Linked DNA regions of Homo sapiens: all the other regions are linked to region 7. Evidence: promoter capture Hi-C in 16 types of primary human blood cells and fetal thymus (Javierre and others, 2016). All regions are on one chromosome and are shown on one strand. The core of a region is centred on a gene start or on the middle of the fragment in contact, and the rest is flanking DNA. Distances in the headings are between cores, read along the strand shown. Region 1 overlaps FGF14-IT1 (FGF14 intronic transcript 1). Region 2 overlaps TPP2 (tripeptidyl peptidase 2). Region 3 has its middle 6.6 kb from the start of TPP2. Region 4 overlaps TPP2 (tripeptidyl peptidase 2). Region 5 overlaps TPP2 (tripeptidyl peptidase 2). Region 6 has its middle 25 kb from the start of TPP2. Region 7 holds the start of EFNB2 (ephrin B2).

Region 1 (2,844 bases), core at 24-2,523, 4.1 Mb after region 7:
CCCTCGGCTACTACAAGAAGGATATTGATTAGAGTAATCCCAGATCAGCCCCAGCTCTAATATTCTAGGTTCCCATAACGTTCACACCCAGTCCTGATTGTAAGTAAACTTCCCTCACCCCTTCCCTGTATCTCTCCCGGACTATGTTAACTATATATTTAAATTGTACTCTAAATTCAGAGACCATCAGAGATAAGAGGTTGACCTTAGCGATCACAAACAACCTGTTCCTTTTACAGGTGTGGCAACTCCTTCCCAGTGGAGGAAGCGACTGTTCCAAGAGCCAGTTTTGGAATTGTAGGCACAAACACAGGTAGAAGCTTTGAGCCTTGGGTGAAGAAACGCGTATTTTACTGGTGACACTAGGAAGAGCTCCTCATGCGCTTCATAGAATTGTGTGGTTGGTGCTGAAATAGATGGCATTCCATTTATCCATTATATTCCCCAGATACCTTTTCCTTAGACAGTTTTAAGATTTTCGGGGTAGGGGAGGGTATCTTCACTAGTTTATTTTTCCTTCTCTCATATCCATGCTATTGGGAAAAATCTTTCTTAAATCTTTTTTATAAACCTCATTTGTAAATTAAGAAGTTGAAAAAGATTATTTTCAGAGTTTATTACAACTCTGAAATTTATGAATTATTTCTTTTAGGTCCACGTGCTTTTTATCACTTTTTCAGTAACTACAATCTCAAAAAAACAAAAAACAAAACTTAGTAAACACTTAAAAAGTGCTGCTGTGTTTGAACTGTTGATGCTGGAGATACAGGGGTGAAGAAGAGTTCTTCCTTCAAGGAATTAGCAGGAAAGACAAAAGACAGGATCAATTATGATGTGGTGAACAATTCTGTGTAGGTGGACCAAGGTGCTATAGGGCCAAGGAAGAGGGGCATGGAAAGGTTTCTGGAGGGAATAAAACTCAGACTGAGTCATGAAGAATGACTAAGAGTTAGCCACGTGGTAAAGGCACTGGTTAGGCTGTCAAGGAAGAGAAAGAAGCATACTTTAAGCTTTGGGGGCGTCAAAGATTGTGGTGCAGACCGAGAATATCAAGTACAACTGAGAAATAGAGGGTGTTTCTAGGGAGTGGCAGGTAGTGAGTGGGGTTGCAAGGTAGTGAGGCACAGATCGTGAGCTCTCTTCTGTGTCATGATCATATCTACCCTTTAGACAACCATTATGACTACAGCGTGGAAAACAGCTCTGGGTTGGGCAAGGTTGAAGGTGGAAAGACCAGGGAGGAAGAGCAGTGAGCAGTGGTGAGCGGTCCAGAATAAGGCAGTGACAGGCACTAGAGAGGAAGTGAAGTCCATCCATCTTAGTGGCCAGTTTGAATTTGGGAAGGAAGTTGAAGGAGGAGTCTGGAATTTTCTGATTACAGGTTTTTGATTTGGACAGTTCTGGTGAGCTAGTCTTCTGGCCATTTGCCAACAGAACACTTCCATCTTCTTGAGACATGGTTGGCTGTCTTCTGACTGTTTATATTGAGGGGCCGAGGTAGCTTTTAACAGCAAGTAGGAGACTTAGACAAGCTTCTCTTTCTAGATTAAAATTTAAATGGACAGTTCTGGGAGAGTTGCTGTGGGATAAAAAGTTCATCTTGATTTCAAACCCGAAAATCCTTAGGACTGGGAAAAAATGCTTTACAATAAAGATATGCCAAAATGATTTTTTTAAACGATTATGTACAATTCTTTGTCAATAGCAGATGTTTTTATGGACACAATACTTTGTTCAGTTTGAGGAGTCAAGTAGTGCAATTAAAAGCCAAGTTTTCAGATTTACTATTCAGGTCTGGCAAGAAAAGAGAAGGAAGTATGAACTTTATTGAATTTACATATGTAAGTTTGCACACGTGCTTTTTTAGATAGGAATGAATGTAGTTAAAATGCCTTTTTTTCCTCCTGTAGCATTTTGTTGTCTGCACAATTATAGTGGATCACTGAAGTGTGTGGTAACCTTATCTGTAATGCTGCATCTTAAAGGTGTAGCTTGGGAGGGATTGTAATATCTGTTCTTTCCACTTCCTGTGTGGAGCACATGGTATAATATTGTACTTTAAGAAATATGAACATAAGAAGGCTTAAAGACTAAAAGAGAAATCATATCTCATAATTGTAGTCCTTTTTGTTTCAACAGCCACTTATTTGTAGTCTGAAACTCATCTTCTTTAGTTGTATTGCTGCTGTATACCAGGTGTTGTAACTTTTAAGCAAAGAAAGGACCCTGTCTGCTAGGAGAACTGAGTCAGTTTTCTACGTAAGCACTCAGTAGTAACCATCATTTGGCCTTAGCATTTTATTGTTGGGACAAATTGAAAGCAGTAACACAATATGCTCTTTCCTCCTTCATTGCTAAATGAGTTGATTTGTTTCCTGAGAAGTGATGTTTTCCATTAACTTGATTATTTTTTCTTGTACCTTTAAAAATTTTTTCAACTCACATGACAAGTAACATAAAATACCTCACATCTCAGACAAATAATAATGACTGTTAAATATTGGAAATACTTTTAATGAGATCAGTACCAAATGTTAGAGATATTTTAATGATGCAGTTAAGAAATTTGATATAGGATAAAAATTTTACATCATTATTGCTTATTATTATCTCTTTTCTAGTTTTCTTTTAAAATGTTGGGAATAATTTTAAACAACACAGTACTGAGGCCATTCTGGTACATGTGTGGCAGATGTGACTCTGTATGGGGGATACTAACTGTGACATGAATGCTATAGTTAGTATGTGGTCTGATATGCAGCCATAAAGTCCGCCCAGCTTTGTCAGACCGCTTGCCCTTTGTTGTAGCAAAGTGCTTTTCCAGTACTGATATTTCATCCCTTT
Region 2 (2,790 bases), core at 2-2,501, 3.9 Mb after region 7:
TTAACAGAAGTGTAGCTTTTGAAATGAATATGGTACATAGAGTACATTTTTAAAAACTTTGAAAAAGAAAATTGGTGTCTTCAAAAGAGCTGAGTATTCCACAGAATGAACCATCTGTTTTTTGGGAAGAAAACTAATATGAGAAATTATTAGCCGTGGAAATCCACTTAAAAATACCTCTTCATGCACAAGAAACCAGAGCTAACATAAATAATTACAAAGATGCAAATCAGGATAGAAATAAAAAATGCCAAAATTGCAAATGAGGATAGAAGTAAAAAAACAAGTATTAGATTATATAAACATGGTTTCTTTGGTACAAGTTTTTACCTGTAATTACTGCATCTGTCAAATATACTTATAATCATTTATATATATTTTTGGTCTCTACTTTGGAATGTGGAGAATGTACTCAAAGAAAATCCTGACACTGATTTGTATTGTAAAGGCAACTAAAGTATTTAACAATTGTTGCCATAGACACAGTAAACACAGTAAACAGGTAATAGAATGCATAGCCCCTAATATAGTAGTAGTATTGCAAAAATAGAATGATCTATAACAATTTTATTATATGTTCATCAAGTGTTTGTCAATCTCTGTTACATTCCTCAAAGACAGAAAGCAGGTTCTTATTCATCTTTATGTTTCCAGTAGTAAGTAGTGTTTGGCACATAGGCCTTCAATAATTGTTTGCAATAACAGCAAATATTGTTGGGGACTTTGCATGTACTTAATACTCATTCATCACAGCCTAAGGCAGGTCGTGTAGATAAGAAACTAAGGTATCAAAATTTTGTAAGTTGCCTAAGGTCATACATAAAAGTGGTAGAGGCAGGAGCCAAACTCAAGGGCTCTAATTTCAGATTCAAATTCCTGACCTCTGCTGCAATACTGGCTCCTTCAGTTTCCCAAATATAACTGAGTAACTGAGTACCTTCTTTAAATGCACCACTGTACTGTGTTGGAAAAATCTGAACCATATAAGAATTTTCTTCCCACTTCCAGGGTTCTTTACTGCAAATTACCAGTTAATTCTGAGAACAAGCACCTGTCTACTAAAACAAAATGATGGTCTGTGATACGCGAGGGGAATCCTACTGACTCCATTTACTTTATTTTATTTCCACAGGAAAAGAAGATTAATAACTTGTATAAACGCTATTGCAAGAATTATAGTAGAGAGCTAAAAGAGATTTAAAATGTTTTTGTAACCAAAATCCAAAAAAGTTCATCAACGATGCTTTTATGAATTGGGTTTTAAAACTGATTAGCTACAAATCAAGATGATAATTACTGAGAAATTCAAGAGTTTTGAGGAAAATAAGTAACAACTAACCAGTATGTCTCCTCAACCTGCCCCCAATCTCCTACCACCAACAAATTAGCATATAACTAGAGAAGGGTGGGCCTGAAGGCATTTTCTAGAAGACTTTCTTAATTTAGCTACATACATAACTGGTTTAACTAAAAGCCTACTACACATATTCTCAAACTGTTTTTAAAATTATTGTGGTTTAACAGCCAGTTTGCAGTACCATAAAATAATGTTTTTTAAAAAAAGGTGAGACAAACATGAAGTACTAGGCTAAACATGTCATATTCAGAGCCCAGCGTAGATTCTTTCCATTTATCTTCTTCCTCTTTTAACCAGCAATGGGGCACAAGAGAGGTCTGTGAGGTAACCCCAAGAACTTTGCTGAAACAAGAAGCAGAAACGTTACCTTATTGTCAAAGAGATCAGTCCATTTAGTAGTTTCCCAAAATGTTTCTGCCAGAGAATCCAAAGGACTTTCTCCTTCCTCCTCCTTTCCTTCTGCATCAGTGGAAATGGCTCCGTCTTGAGCCTGGGTGTGAAGAAGATGGTCTGCCAGGGCACAACCTTTCCTACAAAGGGCATCTACGAGGGTGGATTTTTGTTTGTCCATGTCACTGTACAGCAAATTAAAAAATATTTCAGATATCAGTAAAATGTCTTTAAAAGTAAATTCTTATCTGAATTTAAATTCATGTATTCTTTTGCCTAAGATTTATAATGCAGAAATACTGTATATCCAGGTACGTACAATTGTATTGTACATCAAATATGATGCCTTATTAATAAACATCAAATGAGCTACTATATTACACATATAGATTAAATGAGTTAGGGTAGCTGCACCTGGTTGAAACGGAATGCCAGAAGCAACAGAGTTGAAAGGTTAATCACTATTCTAAATTTTTTTAGCTATATAACTCTTAATCAGGTAAACGACTTTTGAGTTTTCAGTTTTCTTATAAATAGTAATCATTACACATTTGTCTATGTGTATACCCAGAGGTTATGTCTTAAAACTTTCAGTTCATGACTAGGACAAATAAATGTAATGCTTTACTCTGAATGTGCCAGCAACTGTCTCAGCATTTTAACATGTTAATTCATTCACATTCAAAACAATTCTGAGTAAGAGACTATTAATTACTGCCATGTTGCAAAGGAAGAAACTGTGGCCCAAAGAGACTATGCAATTTGTTCAAGGTCCTCCAGTTAGGAAGTGGCAGATCCAGGATTCTAAGCTTAGCAGTAGAAATCTGTAATCTGTGCTCTTAATCACTACGGCACATTGCCTTGATCCAGGGCAGACATCTTTGTTTTCTTCAATGCATTCCACGTGCCTAGGACAATGCCCGGCACAGAATGGAAACTCAATAAATCATTGCTGAATGAAATACAACCACCACCTACACTCCAGGGAAAAGTGTTAGTCTCTAGAATGTGTGCTTATTTGAGGCATTCTGTCCAACTTATGT
Region 3 (3,115 bases), core at 578-3,077, 3.9 Mb after region 7:
CTGATTTCTTACCTGGAGAGCAGGACTGAAAATGTGGGAAATTCCATAAACATAGGAAAGCTTTCCAATGATGCCAGGAAATCGTGACAAATATCCACTTTGCTAACATACCTCCAAACCAAAGTAAACTACACAACATCAAGTTCCAGGTACTTGAGCCTCCAGTAATAAAATGGTAAACTAAGCAGTTTGGACCAGGCCTTCTGGTGAAAGTGAGAACTGGACAATGTATGAAAAATATCTGCTTGAAAGATACCTTCCTGAAGGATCAGAGAGCTAACAGGGTGGTGAAGAGTTCGCGTAAAAGACATAAATTCAGAGACTTAAGCCTAACATTTGAGACAGCTTTGCCTTTCAGGGCATTTGCCAGTGCGTAAAGAGGTAGCTGAGAGACAGAATTTTTTTTTACAGCCTCCCAGGGCTATGGGTACAAGAGTGGAGGCCAGAGCCTGCCAAGAGTGGGAACAGCATGGAAAACCTATATTTTGGGTTGAGGCTGCAAAGTCCACACCCAACAAATAGGAATAAATTGAAAGTAAACTTAGACTGGCCCCAGAGGGATATCACATTATAGATAATATTAAGTCCTGAACTTGGATCAAGGTGATTATTCTCAATGGTATATGTTCATTGGAATCATCTGGAGAACCTTAAAAATATCGCTACTTGAGCCCACAGATTCCCAGAATTCCAGATATTCTGATTTAATTGGTCTGGATTTTCGCCTGGGCATTGAGATATTTTATATCTACCCAGATTATTCTAATGGGTAGCCAAGGCTGAAACCCACTCAGCTAGTTCTGCCTGGCAGAAGCAAAATACTTTAAAATACCTATATTTACTCCATTCAGGAAGATAAAGATATAGTTGAGCATTTGGGCAGAAAATCAGAAACTTAAAAAAGACAAAGCCAATTTAGAAAGAGCCAAAAAGAAATTTTAGAACTGAAAAATACAAAAGCAAAACAAAATTAGGAACTCAGTTTCTTAATTAAGAAACTCGGTTTCGTAATTAAGAATGAGTTTCATAGTTACTGTCATTTAGCCAAAAAGAATTATAAATTGCAAGAAAATACTAAAAAATACCTGGAAAAATAAAAGGATGAAAAACACAGAAGAGATGAAAAGAGTAATAGATGTAATAGTGGGAAGTTCTAACAAGCTTTTAAGAAATGAGAAAGAAAATGCTTTAGAAGCAATATCTGAGAGTTGAAAGCCTATATATTCAAAAAGTCTGATGGCCCTGAAGCAAGATAAATTTTAAAAAATCTACATCTGGGGACATCATAGTAAAAAAAAAATGAAAAGGCAAGAGTAGTTAGAGAAAAAAGATTACTTTCAAAGAAGCAGCAATTGATTGAGAACCGATTCCAAACAGAAATGAAGAAAACCAGGAGACAATGAGACGACAGCTCACCCATGCTGAAAGAAAATAATCGCCAACCCAGAATTCTGTAGCTAATGAAAACATCCTTCAAGAAAGAGAACATGATCAAGACATCTTCAGAGACGCAAAGGCCGAGGCAATGTGTCACCAGAAAGACAGCAAAAAGTAAATACTAAAGGATATTCTTTGGGCAAAACAAAAATGGGCCAGGCACAGTGGCTCACACCTGTAATCCCAGCACTTTGGGAGGCCAAGGTGGGTGGATCGCGAGGTCAGGAGATCGAGACCAGCCTGGCCAACATGGTGAAACCCCATCTCTACAGAACTACAAAAATTAGCCAGGCATGATGGCGGGTGCCTGTAATCCCAGCTACTTGGGAGGCTGAGGCAGGAGAATTGTTTGAACCTGGAAGGTGGAGTTTGCAGTGAGCCGAGATCGCGCCAGTGCACTCCAGCCTGGGTGACTGAGTGAGCCTCCATATCAAAAAAAAAAAAAAAAGACTCAGACACCCCAAAAGCTATATCGAAGTTGAATCAATTTCAGAATGGTGTCTTTTATTGTCAGTTAATGCAAGAAATTTTTTTAAAATGCCTTCCCAGGCCAGAGATGGGGAGATGTACTTTTAGCATTATACGGCTAGGGTTATTACTTTACACAGAAAAGAGCCGATGTTATGTAAATAGGAGAAATGTGATTTTTTCATATAGGAAAAATAGGTGCTTTTGACAGGAAATTAATACTTGGAGTGGTGAGGTGTGTTTAATTTCACGTATGTCACAAAACATGGTGAAATCTCTCACCATTTTCCTCTCATCTGTGGGACCAGAGCTGCCTTTTCTCCCTTTCTCCCCAACAGCTCTGAACAGCTGTCCTGGGGACCAGAGGCTCACCCTTCCCTCTGCAGAACCAGTAGAAACTGGGCAGAACAGTGAATCCATTTACCTCCAGAGGACACTAGAGACTGTAGGTTTAAAGACATAAGAGAATTATGTGGCAGATGGCCTTGATTATTTGTGTGGGGCAGATGGTATGTACGGGGAAACACAGAGCGGGGGCTTAGGCGGGAGCTTCCCTTCGTGGGCAGCATCTTGCATCTGCAAGCTTAATCCTGGGCACGAGGCCCAATTCTATGCTCCTCTTTGTTGCCTTCTCCAGCTGTGAGACATTCACTGGAATTTTCAGTAAATAACTTCTTAGGACCTCTGTGTTGATCAGGGATAGTCCAGGCTATGCTGTGGCAGAATACAAGCCCAAATTCCGGTGAGCTAAAAGACATTGCCCTTGTCTACTCATTGCAGCATCTCCATTCCTGGTTGGCTGAGAGCTCTGCTCCAAGCTGTCACACCTTTGGATTCAGGTTGAAAGGCTGCACTGTCTGGAATGTAGCTGGTCACCACGGCAGGAGAAACAAGAACATGGGGAAATAGGCATCAGCTTCCAGACCTTCCATCACTTCTGCTCACATTTCATTAACCAAAGCAAGTTTCATGGCCGCGGCCAAGTCCAAGGAGGCAGAAAAGTACAGTTCTATCGTGTGCCCATGGGGACAGTCTTCATCCATTCAGGCTGCTATAACAAAATACCGTAAACTGAGTGGCTTGTAAATAATAGAAATTCATTTCTCACAGTTTTGGAGGCTGGGACATCCAAGAGCAAGTTGCAGACTCAGTCTGGTGAAGGCCCATCTTCTGGTTCATAGACAGCTGTCTTTTTACTGTGTCCTCACAG
Region 4 (2,908 bases), core at 275-2,774, 3.9 Mb after region 7:
AAGGAGTCTCGCTCTGTCACTCAGGCTGCTGTGCAGTGGCGCCATATTGGCTCACTGCAACCTCTGTGTTCTCCTGTCTCAGCCTCCCTAGTAGCTGGGATTCAGGTGTGCACCACCATGCCCAGCTAATTTTTGTATTTTTAGCAGAGAGGGGGTTTCGACATGTTGGTCAGGCTGGTCTTGAACTCCCGACCTCAGATGATCCAAAGTGCTTGGCCTCCCAAAGTGCTGGGATTACAGGTGTGAGCCACCGTGCCCGGCCTGGAAATGTCCTTTAATACAGACACTTGGTCAAGAAGATGTCCTGTCCAGTTAAAAAACAAACAAACACGCACTTGGAAAAACTGTTTGGCATGACCTAGTGACATATCTCCATGATTCAGCAATTCTACTCCTATGCACACATTCTGGAGACATCCACACACATGTGCACAGGATACACACACATCACAGCAGAATGGATAGAATGTAGTAGGTACAAACCATGGCATATTGCACAGCAATGAAACTTAATAAATCATTGCTGCCCGTGACAACATGGGCAAGTCTCAGGAATCTGAAATCTCACAACACCAAGGGAAAAATGACGTATGATGAAATTTTATGAATGAAATGAGACTGTTTATGTAAAGTTCAAAACTAAACAATATATTTTATGTAGCCACACAGATATGGTAAAACTACACACAAAAAAGCAAAGGAATGATTATCACAAAAGTTGAAATAGGCTGTGATATAGGAGGATGCAGGAAGTTTCTGATGTACGGCAATACTCTTTATCTTGATCTGGGTGGGTACAATGGTGTTAGCTATACTATTCATAAAACTGTATATATGTGTTTTATGTATTTTATGTATGTATATTTTGCAATAAAAGGTTTTAAAGTTCTATTCACTTTTGTACTTTTATCTGCTCATGGGAGTACCATAGGTCATAAGTAGCTTACCACTGGTTTCTCAAGGAAGCCTAGGAATATCATCCTTAGAGAATGAGGCTACTAAAGTGTTCAAAGCACCTAACTTAACAGTTGATCTTAAACTGACAGAAAAATAAAAGTCTGTTAGCAGTTTATGGGCTATGTGGAAAAAACAGACTATAAACATTTAATTCATTTCAAAGCATGACAGCTGGGCGCGGTGGCTGACATTTGTAATCCCAGCACTCTGGGAGGCCGAAGTGGGTGGATCACCTGATGTCAGGAGTTCGAGACCTGCCTAGCCAGCATGGTGAAACCCAGTCTCTACTAAAAATACAAAAAATTAGCCGGGCATGGTGGCGGGTGCCTATAATCCCAGCGACTTGGGAGGCTGAGGCAGGAAAATTGCTGGAACCCAGGAGACGGAGGTTGCAGTGAGCCAAGATCACACCACTGCACTCCAGCCTGGACGACAGAGCAAGACTCTGTCATAAATAAATAAATGAATAAATAAATAAATAAATAAATGCACGACTACATCAAAGAAACTTGAAGACTTCATTGTGCTGCTTTCTGAAAACTATGTACTAAAGAGTTGCAGAGATGCAACTAGTCAGAATCCCAGTGATTAATAATTCTTCCTTTTATTGACTACTGCAAAATATCTAAACACCTGCACATCCCTGAAAAAAATTAAACTGAACATGTGTGTGAGTACATGTTATGGATGGATGGAGAAGAGAGTTCTGACTAAGAAGACTGGCGGAAAATTTGTATAAGAGCACTCCCATTGCCCCATCCCACATCCTGCCCAAACTTCACCAACCAAGCTGAACCAGAGAAAAGCTGACATGTCAACAAAGCAAAGAACAGGTGATATGGTTTGGCTCTGTCTCTACCCAAATCGCATGTCGAAATATAACCCCTTCGTGTCAGGGGAGGGATGTGGTGGGAGGTGACTGGATCATGGGGGTGGATTTCCCCCTTGTTGTTCTTGTGATGATGAATTATTACAAGATCTAATGGTTTAAAAATGCATGGGGGCTGGGCACGGTGGCTCGCGCTTGTAATCCCAGCACTTTGGGAGGCTGAGGCAGGTAGATCACCTGAGGTCAGGAGTCTGAGACCAGCTTGGCCAACATGGTGAAACCCTGTCTCTACTAAAAATACAAAATTAGCCGGGTGTGGTGGCAGACACCTGTAATCCCAGCTACTCAGGAGGCTGAGGCAGGAGAATCGCTTGAACCCGGGTGGCAGATGTTGCAGTGAGTTGAGATCGCGCCATTGCACTCCAGTCTGGGCAACAAGACCAAAACTCCGTCTCAAAAAAAAAAAAAAAAAAAAAAGCATGGCACTTCTCCCTTTGCTGGCTCTCTTTCCTGCTCTATCATGATGAGAAGACATGTCTTGTTTCCCCTTCACCTTCCCCATGATTGTAAGTTTCCTGGGACTCCCAAGTCATGCTTCCTGTTAAGCCTGTAGGACTGTGAGTCGATTAAACCTCTTTTCTTCATAAATTCCCCAGTCTCATGTAGTTCTTCATAGCAATGTGAAAAGGAACTAATACAAAAAGGATGAGACATAAAAATGAGTCTGCATGACATCACTCCAGGCCCCTTGCATGGTGTGGTTACCTGAATACCTACGGCCAGACTTCTTGCTCACTCCTCCCCTAAACCCCAGGCCAAATGGGCTAAGGACTTCTTTAAGGTAACTGGGCATCCTGAGGGAAAAAAATATAGTGTATACTGATATTATGGGGGTTCCCCTAAATGTTATCATTACCCTATAGTGAAACCCACCAAAAGACCCTACATAAGCAGAGGAGCTTCCAATCACCTTTTCTTGTGCCTTGCTAAAATAAGACAGCTAGGGATGATTAGACACCTAAACAAAATATCTAACATAAAAAGCAGAGAACAAGGAAGAGGAGGCAGAGAAAGAGGAAGGAGAGGGTGAAGAAAAAGGGAGAAAGGAGAGGAGGAAGCAGA
Region 5 (3,001 bases), core at 424-2,923, 3.9 Mb after region 7:
CTCAGAAGATTCGTACATACAATTATGAGTAGAAATTGACCAAAAGAACCAGTAACTTTTGTGGAAAAGGTAACTAAGGCACTAGGAAGAACTTAAGAGCAAGATTTTAAAGTGTAAGAAACCTGCTTAGAGCTTGACAGCAAACAAGAAAAATATACTGACATTAAGTAGAGGAGATGAGGTTATACCATGAAGAAGAAAATGAAGTTAACATTAAAAAGGTACAGAGCCATGCACAGGACCCTTCAAAGTTGTAAGTGTGAGTATCTGAGAAAGGGAAGAATATTAGCAAAAGAGGGCTTCAAGAGGATGAAAGTTAAAGTAGAGAAAGAAATACAGTTAAGTAAAATAAAGAAGTGAGAGAAGAGGGAAGAATGAAATGACTCATGATAACAGGGTGCATGTTACGAGGACCGTAAAGTGATGTCTCAAAAACCAGATGATAGCTTGGTGATGGGAATGGGGGAGAGATGATCAACAAGTAAATACTCGAGGTAATTTCAAATAGCTACTACTATGAAGAAAAAAAGGAAGGTAACATTAGGTCAAGGCCATGACACTGGATTTGGCAGCAGAAAGACAATGAAGCCAACGAGGAAGGAGGGGAGTGGGGGTGCATCCTAGACACACTAGAATGGATTGAGGAGATGTGAAAACTGACCGAGTTAGTGAACATACGCAACCAACAGTAAGTTTTGCAGATGAGATGCAAGTCACTAAAGAGAATAGCAAAATTTCAGCAAGTCTGGGCGTCTGTCGGGTATGTATATACAACTGAGGATGGCTTCAGAGTGCTTGTGGAACTAGTAATTATAATGATAGACAGATTGTCAGATCTAAATTGCCTGGGAAGAGAAGTGAGGATGCAGTGCATCTGACAGTGAAAAAACACCAGAGTCTGTGGGTTGCATATCTCAGAAGAACTGTGAGGGAGACCTAACCAAGGAAGAGCCACAAAGGACAGCACAGGCATGCTCAGAGTTGAGACTTCAGGCATGGTGCAGTGAACAGCATTAACATCGTCACAGATGTGAACACAGGAACGGGGGTGTGCGGCCTACGAGCCAAACAGGACTTCAAGAGGATGAAAGTCCTCTTGAACACAGTTATCATCTAACCACTGCAACTGTTCTTTCTTCCACCGTGACACTCAATCCACTTATGAAAAACATCTCATACTCTTCACTGGCTAAGGTTCTATGGCTAAACAACTGTCAAGGAACACTCACCCAGAATTTGGCCAGTGAGTTGCTTCTCCGTAACTGTAGTTGACAAGATCACACTTATGATTTATAACTTCTATCATCTATTAAAGAGATTAAGACTCTAGTTTAGGCAGCAATTTACAGAAACAGATTAGCCAGTAAAATAAGGGCATATATATAATCCTATAGTTTCTTAGCCAATCATATTCTAATTTATAAGTTACCTCCAGGCATATCACCATATACCTGGACATATAAGCACATAAACACAAAAAGGTAGGAGGAGACACATAAAAAAGTAGTCATTAAAAAAAAAAACAAAAAACTAGCATTTCTAGAAAAGAGTGGGGTTAGAGGGGGACAGAGGTAGAGGGAATGGAATGGTCCTTCCTAGGTTAAAAAATCACTAAAATTAAATATACTTTCCTACGTTAAAATGACGTACAGAATGTTAGCTGAGGTTTTAAATTCCTCTTAGGCTGATGGAGAAAGCTGGCTAAGAGGTCTTTCTTTTTAAGTATCTCAAAATTGCTTGTTAGGAGATTTGCTAGAAATGACGAGTATGAAGTAAGTAATTTTTTCACAAAGGTTAGGCCAAATCCTAATAATATTTAATAAAAATAATTTAAAAATAAATTAGTAAATATTTTTGCTTTGTTAAAAGTCCTGTACACTATATATAGTTCAATGTATTCTTGGTAAACTAGGAGCACTTATAAACCTAAAAATATCCAAGATCATTAATCATTAATCTTCTGAATCAACAACTCACAAACACTCACAGCTCTTATGAGGCCTGTGCCTGTTTCCATTGTGCTTAGTCTTGTATCACCAATCTTGATGGAAAGAATTTGAGCACCAGGAGCTACCCCATTCCGTTCAGGTTCTTCTGGAAAGTGTCCAGCAGCTATACTAGCTACATGTGTCCCATGAGCTCCTAGAGACACAAAGGTGGGGAAATGACAAAACATTCTCATGGACTGAAAGTTTATTCAATTCAATTTGCATATTATTAATCATGATAAAAAGAATACACATTACTCTGCTACCCTGTTCATGGAGAGCAAAAACTCAAGTCACAAAGGAAAGTATTTGCAACATGTATAGCTGACAAAGAGCTTTATATCCAGAATATATAAAAATCTTTCAAATTCACAATAAAAAAAGGGAGAATCCCCCCTTCAAACATTTGAAAAAGCATTTTATAAAAGAAGATACCCAAAGGGCAAATAAACACACGAAAAGATGTTTAATTTCATTCGTCATCTAGGAAACGCAAATTAAGCCACAAAAAGATGCTTCTACGTACCTTTTAGAATTGCCAAAATATTAAAGGCTGACAAAGCAAGTGTGGATGGAAGTACATATCATACACTGCTGGCTGGAGTGAAAGCTGAACACTGCCACAGCCTATGAGCCAGCCATCCTACCTCTAGGTACACACAATACCAAAATGTGTGCACATGTAACTAAGACACCCACAAAAATGTTCATGGCAACACTGTTTATAAAATTCAAAAACTTAAAAACCACCACAAGATTCATTAACAGTAAATGGTTACATGTACATCAATTCATAGAACTGACAATTATACAGCAATAAACTACTACTATGTACTATGAGATAAAGCTCACAAAAATAAGGCTGAACTAAAGAAGTCACATACAAAAATGGATATTGAATTTTCATATAAATGAAAAAAAGGCTGAACCATCTGAAACTGCCACTATTTTATCATTTCCGATCACAAAAACAGCAACATCATATGGTCCAAACTAATGTGGCAATGGAGATC
Region 6 (3,114 bases), core at 349-2,848, 4.0 Mb after region 7:
GGATCAAGGTAGGGCACTCTCTCTTTCTCTCAAAATCTGGGGTGTGTGTAGGTCAGAAACTGCCAAAGCTAGATCTTCTGGGCCACTAAGACACCTGCTTAGTTCTCTTATAAGCATTTGACTGTAGTCATTTGAATTTATTTAAATCAATAGTTCTTAGCTTCCGTTCTCCCAGCCTTTTCCTCCTATTATGAAGTTAAAATATGAGACAACTGCCATGGTTATACCCAGATTTTCACAAAAGTTTCTCCTCCTTTCATTTTGGTAAAAATAATGCAGTGCAATAATTTGTATTCAATACAGCTATTAAGGTTCAACAGTAATGATTATTTACTGTGAAATTCGGATACAAGATATGTACAACTCCCCACTTCATCGTTCTCTTTCTCCCTCAGAAAAGCTTATTAACACGAATGAGAGTTTCTTTGTTTAAGGAAAACCTTTATTTCCCTCTGACGTGCAAAGCTCAATGACTTTGCCACTGCACTGAATCTTGAGTCCAGTCTCACGATAAGAAAACTCCCCACCTCTCAAACTGCTCCTGGTAACGCTTCATTAGGAGCAAACACTTTCTTGAGACAAATCTCACAAATGATCAATAGAGTTTCTATTGAGACTCTCAGGTTGAGAATCTCTGATCTAAATGTCTAAACTCAATGAGCATAGATGCACTATTTATTTTCACTTATTCAACCTTTCAAAATGTACTTAAAATATCAATATTCTTACAGCAAAGGCCACTAGCGGCTTCCTCAATTAATATCTGGATGCATGAAATCCTTTTTCATTCTTTGATACTTTTAAGCAAAAAGGACACACTGATTCTCAATCATGGAAAATAATAAAGGGTTTTTTTTTAGACTAAAATGTGTACTGCAAAAGAATTAAACGGTAATTTTTTTTTTGTTTCTAAAGTTGTTGAACTTCTCAATAGAAAAAAAGCAGGCAGAGTTTCTGCTGATCTCACTATGAGGCACAAAGACTGAAATTTAGTCTTGTATTGATATGTAAATATTAAAAAATGCATATGATTTTTTCCTTTATTCCTTCTCCAAATCTGATGACCGGCAAAGCTCTTAAATTGCATGCACATATTTATGTGTCACATGTAAACGCTGTTCATGTCATCTGGATATCAGTCAGTCACCAAAACGAAAAGTAGGTTTGACAGGCCAGATCTGGTGGCTCGTAAATGTAGATTTCCATCAAAGAACAAAGACCTGAGCAGTGTTCCGAACAAGGAAGATCCTGTAGATGTCTCCAGTTCGTCTTCTATATTTGCACTTGTGAGATCATTAGTCAGCTGTATTATTTATCTCCTACACAAAAATATTTCAAGGTCTGTGGGAGTTTTCTCCAGTTAAGGTTAATCAATTTTTATTACTCTCAGTTTATAGCTTCCCAGATGCTTAAGTTGGTGAAGACTTTCTTGTTTTTAATTTAAGAAAAGAGAGTTCCTTATTTGTCCCCTTTCAACCATTCTTGAAGACTTGAACTCACATGGCTATTAAAAATGATGAACAGAGAGACTTAGATTTTCACTGAATGTCTCTGAGAAACATCTGCAGCATAGCATATCATGATAAAGTAAGAATAAGGGAGGAATGTTAACAGTTTTAGGCTTTGAAACTTAGTATGTTTCCCCTGAACCTTTTGAAAACCCATAAGCTCTACATTTTTAAACTGAGGAGAATTACAATGTAATTTGTTTAGCTAAATAAATCATTTATACAGGAGGAATAGTATTTGTGCTAAGCTCTAATTTACTATGAAACAAAGAGCTAGATTTAATGTAATTGTGTTTCTGCATATAATAAAATCTACACATACATTTTGTCCTAAAAATAAGTTATTAAGGCTGGACGCAGTGGCTCACGCCTGTAATCCCAGCACTTTGGGAGGCCGAGACAGATGGATCACCTGAGGTCAGGAGTTCGAGACCAGCCTGGCCAACATGGTGAAACCCTGTCTCTACTAAAAATACAAAAAAAGTTTGCCGGGCCTGGTGGTGGGTGCCTGTAATCCCAGCTACTTGAGAGGCTGAGGCAGGAGAATCACTTGAACCTGGGAGGCAGAGGTTGCAGTGAGCCAAGATCACGCCATTGTACTCCAGCCTAGGCAACAAGAGCAAAACTCTGGCTCAAAACAAACAAATAAATAAATAAATATAAAAATAAGTTATTAAGCGAGCTCCTGGGCTTCCATGTGACTCTGGCTTGCTATTACAAATGCTCCAGACCACCAAACTGGATTCCTTTCCTAAAATTGCAAATGAGATTTCCCCACCTTACCTTGGTATCCTCAGATATTACCTTTGCCGATATTTTCTTCATTGTTTCCCAGAAATCAATGATGCAACTAATATGATCTGCAATTTTTTCACCAATAGAGGGAACCATCCACCTGCATTTCTTTGCTGTGTCCTACCAGAGCCCCCAGGGCCTCATGGCTTCTGTGGGTTGCTTTCCATCTCCTCCTCTGGCTCCTGAACGGGTCCTGTCCTCTGTGCTCCAGCTGAAGCAGTGCCGTTTGTCTTTTCCCCTGCTCTCGCCAATCCTGTCTCCAGCAGATCCCTTTCAGGATTTTTTTGTTGTTACCAGCCAGTGCCAGGAGTGAAGAATATAGATTTTGGTATCTGTGCCTGCACTCTAATTCCACTTCACAGCAAGCCATGGAGTTTGCCTTAACTTCACTTCTATATAAAGCTGCTTTAATTTTCTTAAAACTCACGACTTGCATTTAAATTGATTCCATCAGTCAACAAATATTCCCTATATACAGCATTTACAAGCTTCCTGCAAATGCAATCCAAATGAAGAGTTCAGGTTAAAAGGGGCTTTCAATACACCATCTCGGGAGACTCGGTGGTAGAATCTCATGGGATACAGGCATTCATATGCAGTCTGTAGTAATAGTTTCCTACTGTGGAGATTTTTCAACATCTTTAGATTGAAAAAAACCATCTTTATATATAAATGTCATAATTTTTTTGCATGACTTTCAAGGAAAAAGTAATGGATGATATTTCTGGAGTACTTAGCTCCAAGGCTTAATGGGGATGAAGGTACTGGAGGAGATATTTTCTTTGATACAGTAAATGAATTAGGAAAGTGT
Region 7 (3,009 bases), core at 39-2,538:
CCATATGCATTTTTAAATTTAGCGTAGTGGATACTTTGTTTTAAAAATACATAATTTGTAGAATTACTGCCCAGTTTGTGTTTGAAACATAAATCCTGGGGTGGACGGCATTAAATTGAAAAAAAACGTGGGCATACAGTATATTTTAATTTTTCATACTGAATCGTACATTTGCACTGTGCCTTATTTCTACCGTGTTCTTCCTACTGTTGGACATATAAAAAGATTTTCCTTGGAACTGTGACTTGATTAGATGCTGCAGTATGCTGGATCCGGGTCGGTGGACCGCAGAGCGCTCGAGATGCGGAGAAGCAAAGCTGGCCGCTAGTGGGCGCTGTGGCTCCGTGGAAGTCACGGACGAGCGTCAGCACCGGCGCTCGACCGGGAAAGTAGCGAGGAGTTCCTGCCAGCTCTGCTCTGGGGTCTTGCAGACGCCGAGTGAGAAGCACATGCCTTGACTTTTCCATCTCACACCCTCTAAATCTCTGGTCACTTTGGGAAGCGCGCGTGTCTCCTAGAGGCTAGTGAGACGGTCCCCGCGTCGTGCCTGTGCCGGCGACACGCGGGGAAAGCTCCAGGGGCGCCACCTTCCCGGGGGGCCAGGAGGGAAGGGAGACGCCCGCAGAGAAGGCGGGAGGCGACGATGCTCAGGCCCTGATTAGAGCTGCAAATTCCGGCGCCGCGTCGCAGGAATCGTCTTGCAATTCCCGGCCCCACTGACTGAAACTGAGCCGTAGGCGATTGGTACCAAAATCAAGTGAGAAGCCCTCGCCGAGAGGCGTCGGGAGAAGCGCGCAGAAGCCGGGAGCTCTAAGGGTGCGCGCGGAGTGCAAGTCTTGCACGCGGGGCAGCGCCGCATCTGCGGAGAAGGGACGCCGAGCGGAGCCTGCTGCCTTCCGCACTGCTCGAGGGAAAGCCGCGCCCTCTGATTCCGCCGAGGGGGAAGGCGCCCCCGGGCGCGGAGACAGGTGGCCCGCTACTCGGCCGTCGCTGTTTCCACGTCTGCACCGCGCCCAGAAGGCCTCTCGCCGCCCCGGGGGCGCCCTGTGCACGCGCTGAGCGCTTCTCCTGCCCGGCTTCTGCTCCGCTCCCGCCGCCCGCGGGAGCCAGGGGCGGGGCTCACCTGTCAGCCCGAGCCCCGCCTCGCGGCACCCAATGTCGGGAGGGGATGGCGGACGGACGGACCGGCCGTCCAACCAGCGCGCGGCCGCGGAGCCGCGGGCCAATGGGCTTCGCGCGGCGGGGCGGGGCCCCGCGTTTATAGCGCTCTGACAGCGCGGCGGCCGCGCTGACTCTCCTCGGCGGGGACCGCGGCGCCGGCCGGAGCGAGGAGCTGCGCACGCAGCGGGTCCCGGCGCCCTCCCCGCACACAAAGGCCCGCGCGCGTCCGGAGCCCGCGGCGGGGACCGAGCTCCCTCTTTCCTGCCCTGGGGGCCGGGAGCCGCGCGGACTGAGAAGGCTCCTGCGCGCCCGGAGGCGCCCTACTCCGCTCCGTGCTCCGGGACATGGAACCGCGCCGACGCGGCGCCCGCGCGCTCGGGCCGCTGCCCGCTGCACTGGATCTATAGTCACAGGCGGCCCCGCTCGGGGCGCAGCGCCCGCCGCCCGCGCCGGTCGTCTCCGCTCCGGGTCTTTGTGTCCCAGCCCGCACCCGCCCCGCGCCCACCCGCCAGCCGCGGCCGGCCCGGCACCCTGGAGCCGCACGGGAGTCGGCCGTCCGAGCTGCGTCCGGCGCGGCGCCCCGGAACCCCGAGTCCGCCGCGCCGCCGCGCCCCGCGCGTGCGCTCCCGCCCCGCGCCCTGAGGGCCCCGGAGAGCGAGCGCACCTGGCCCGGCGACCGCTGGAGCTGCGCAGCGCGCCTCGGAGCTGCCTGCGGGCGCACGCCGTCTTCCCCGCCAGTCTGCCCCGGAGGATTGGGGGTCCCAGCCTGCGTCCCGTCAGTCCCTTCTTGGCCCGGAGTGCGCGGAGCTGGGAGTGGCTTCGCCATGGCTGTGAGAAGGGACTCCGTGTGGAAGTACTGCTGGGGTGTTTTGATGGTTTTATGCAGAACTGCGATTTCCAAATCGATAGTTTTAGAGCCTATCTATTGGAATTCCTCGAACTCCAAGTAAGTGGCGTCCGCGATCCCCCTATGTCCCCGCCCCGGGGTCCGCCGCGCCGTCCGGGCGGGAGGAGGGGTCAGTCCGCGGGGCCTCGGAGCCTGTTTCTGGAACCTCGGTTCCCCGTCCCCCACCCCCAACCCCCGCCCCATTTCACTAGGTGGAGACTCCTCGCTCGGCTTTCCAACCCGAGCCCCGCTGGAACGGACGGTCTCTCCGCCTTTCCTCCCCCGAACGCTCCCAGGCGCTAAAAGCTACTATCGGCTCGGGTGTCAAGTCCGGGAAGGTGTCCGATGGCGATACCTGACCCTCTCCTGTTTTCGAGGACGAAGGACATGGCCACAATCTAGGCTGGCCGGCACGCGGGGACTGGTGGGCTCTGGAGAGAGGCGGAGATGCTGCATTCGCGGGGAGCGCGGGCGGCGTGGTCCGGGGCCCGCGGGCGGGCGACCGGGGTGGCAGGACGCTGGCAGCGAAGCGCGTTCTGGAGAGGGGAGCCTGGAGTCGCTACGCTGCCCGCAGAGCCCTGGAGCCGGGGCGCCTTGGCACCGCGCCGCCAGCCCGAGGGTGCGCGGGGAGCTCGCCTGCTTCGCAGGAGAACTCGGGCGTCGAGCCCTTTCCTCCGCGCCGGGGAGACGGGCCTTAGGCTTCTCCCTGAGGGCCCGCCGCACCTCGGCCTCCCGCTTCGTTCATAAGCCGGTAGCCCCGGAGTATGCGGTCTCGATGGCCGACCTGATTGTAATGCACTTCCTATAAAAGCTTAGGGCCCTGCCCAGTCGACACTGCTCCTGAAGCCTTCTCCCTCGGGACCCTGGTAGGAATGGGATCCTTAGGATCAGATTTGCTCTTACCGGACTCTACAGCCGGGAGCGAGCCAGGCCTTGTGGAGAGTAACTTTCAGTTTGGGCCA

Evidence for each region. The method cuts DNA at HindIII sites, captures the fragments that hold promoters and counts their contacts. A CHiCAGO score of 5 or more calls a contact.
Region 1: a fragment that was not itself captured here is called in contact with the fragment with the promoter of EFNB2 in region 7 in 1 of 17 cell types (naive CD8 T cells); the score reaches 6.0 in naive CD8 T cells.
Region 2: a fragment that was not itself captured here is called in contact with the fragment with the promoter of EFNB2 in region 7 in 1 of 17 cell types (monocytes); the score reaches 5.3 in monocytes.
Region 3: a contact is called between a fragment that was not itself captured here and the fragment with the promoter of EFNB2 in region 7, in 2 of 17 cell types (total B cells and total CD4 T cells). The highest score is 7.0, in total B cells.
Region 4: a fragment that was not itself captured here is called in contact with the fragment with the promoter of EFNB2 in region 7 in 1 of 17 cell types (neutrophils); the score reaches 8.3 in neutrophils.
Region 5: a fragment that was not itself captured here is called in contact with the fragment with the promoter of EFNB2 in region 7 in 1 of 17 cell types (monocytes); the score reaches 5.3 in monocytes.
Region 6: a contact is called between a fragment that was not itself captured here and the fragment with the promoter of EFNB2 in region 7, in 2 of 17 cell types (naive CD4 T cells and monocytes). The highest score is 6.0, in naive CD4 T cells.

The regions. Positions count from the first base shown.
Region 1 is chr13:102,391,227-102,394,070 of GRCh38, reverse strand. It overlaps FGF14-IT1 (FGF14 intronic transcript 1), which reads left to right. Exons shown (of 4, transcript NR_036486.1): 2 at 240-313. It also overlaps a transcript of FGF14 not described here. Among named protein-coding and RNA genes, the nearest start is that of FGF14-IT1, 1.9 kb to the left of the region's middle. The HindIII fragment of the contact is 522 bases long and covers 1,013-1,534 here.
Region 2 is chr13:102,673,425-102,676,214 of GRCh38, reverse strand. It overlaps TPP2 (tripeptidyl peptidase 2), which reads right to left. Exons shown (of 30, transcript NM_001330588.2): 28 at 1,725-1,932. Among named protein-coding and RNA genes, the nearest start is that of METTL21C, 20 kb to the left of the region's middle. The HindIII fragment of the contact is 2,614 bases long and covers 1-2,558 here.
Region 3 is chr13:102,588,843-102,591,957 of GRCh38, reverse strand. No RefSeq gene overlaps it. Among named protein-coding and RNA genes, the nearest start is that of TPP2, 6.6 kb to the left of the region's middle. RefSeq lists an enhancer at 1-59. The HindIII fragment of the contact is 1,327 bases long and covers 1,164-2,490 here.
Region 4 is chr13:102,608,748-102,611,655 of GRCh38, reverse strand. All of the region lies in intron 2 of TPP2 (tripeptidyl peptidase 2), which reads right to left. Among named protein-coding and RNA genes, the nearest start is that of TPP2, 13 kb to the right of the region's middle. The HindIII fragment of the contact is 7,733 bases long and covers 1-2,908 here.
Region 5 is chr13:102,626,153-102,629,153 of GRCh38, reverse strand. TPP2 (tripeptidyl peptidase 2) reads right to left here. Exons shown (of 30, transcript NM_001330588.2): 7 at 1,988-2,142; 8 at 1,230-1,306. Among named protein-coding and RNA genes, the nearest start is that of TPP2, 31 kb to the right of the region's middle. The HindIII fragment of the contact is 6,147 bases long and covers 1-3,001 here.
Region 6 is chr13:102,570,573-102,573,686 of GRCh38, reverse strand. No RefSeq gene overlaps it. Among named protein-coding and RNA genes, the nearest start is that of TPP2, 25 kb to the left of the region's middle. The HindIII fragment of the contact is 2,391 bases long and covers 403-2,793 here.
Region 7 is chr13:106,533,941-106,536,949 of GRCh38, reverse strand. It overlaps EFNB2 (ephrin B2), which reads left to right and starts at 1,288. Exons shown (of 5, transcript NM_004093.4): 1 at 1,288-2,107. The coding sequence starts at 1,986. RefSeq lists an enhancer at 191-260 and a silencer at 841-1,500. The HindIII fragment of the contact is 2,990 bases long and covers 1-2,860 here.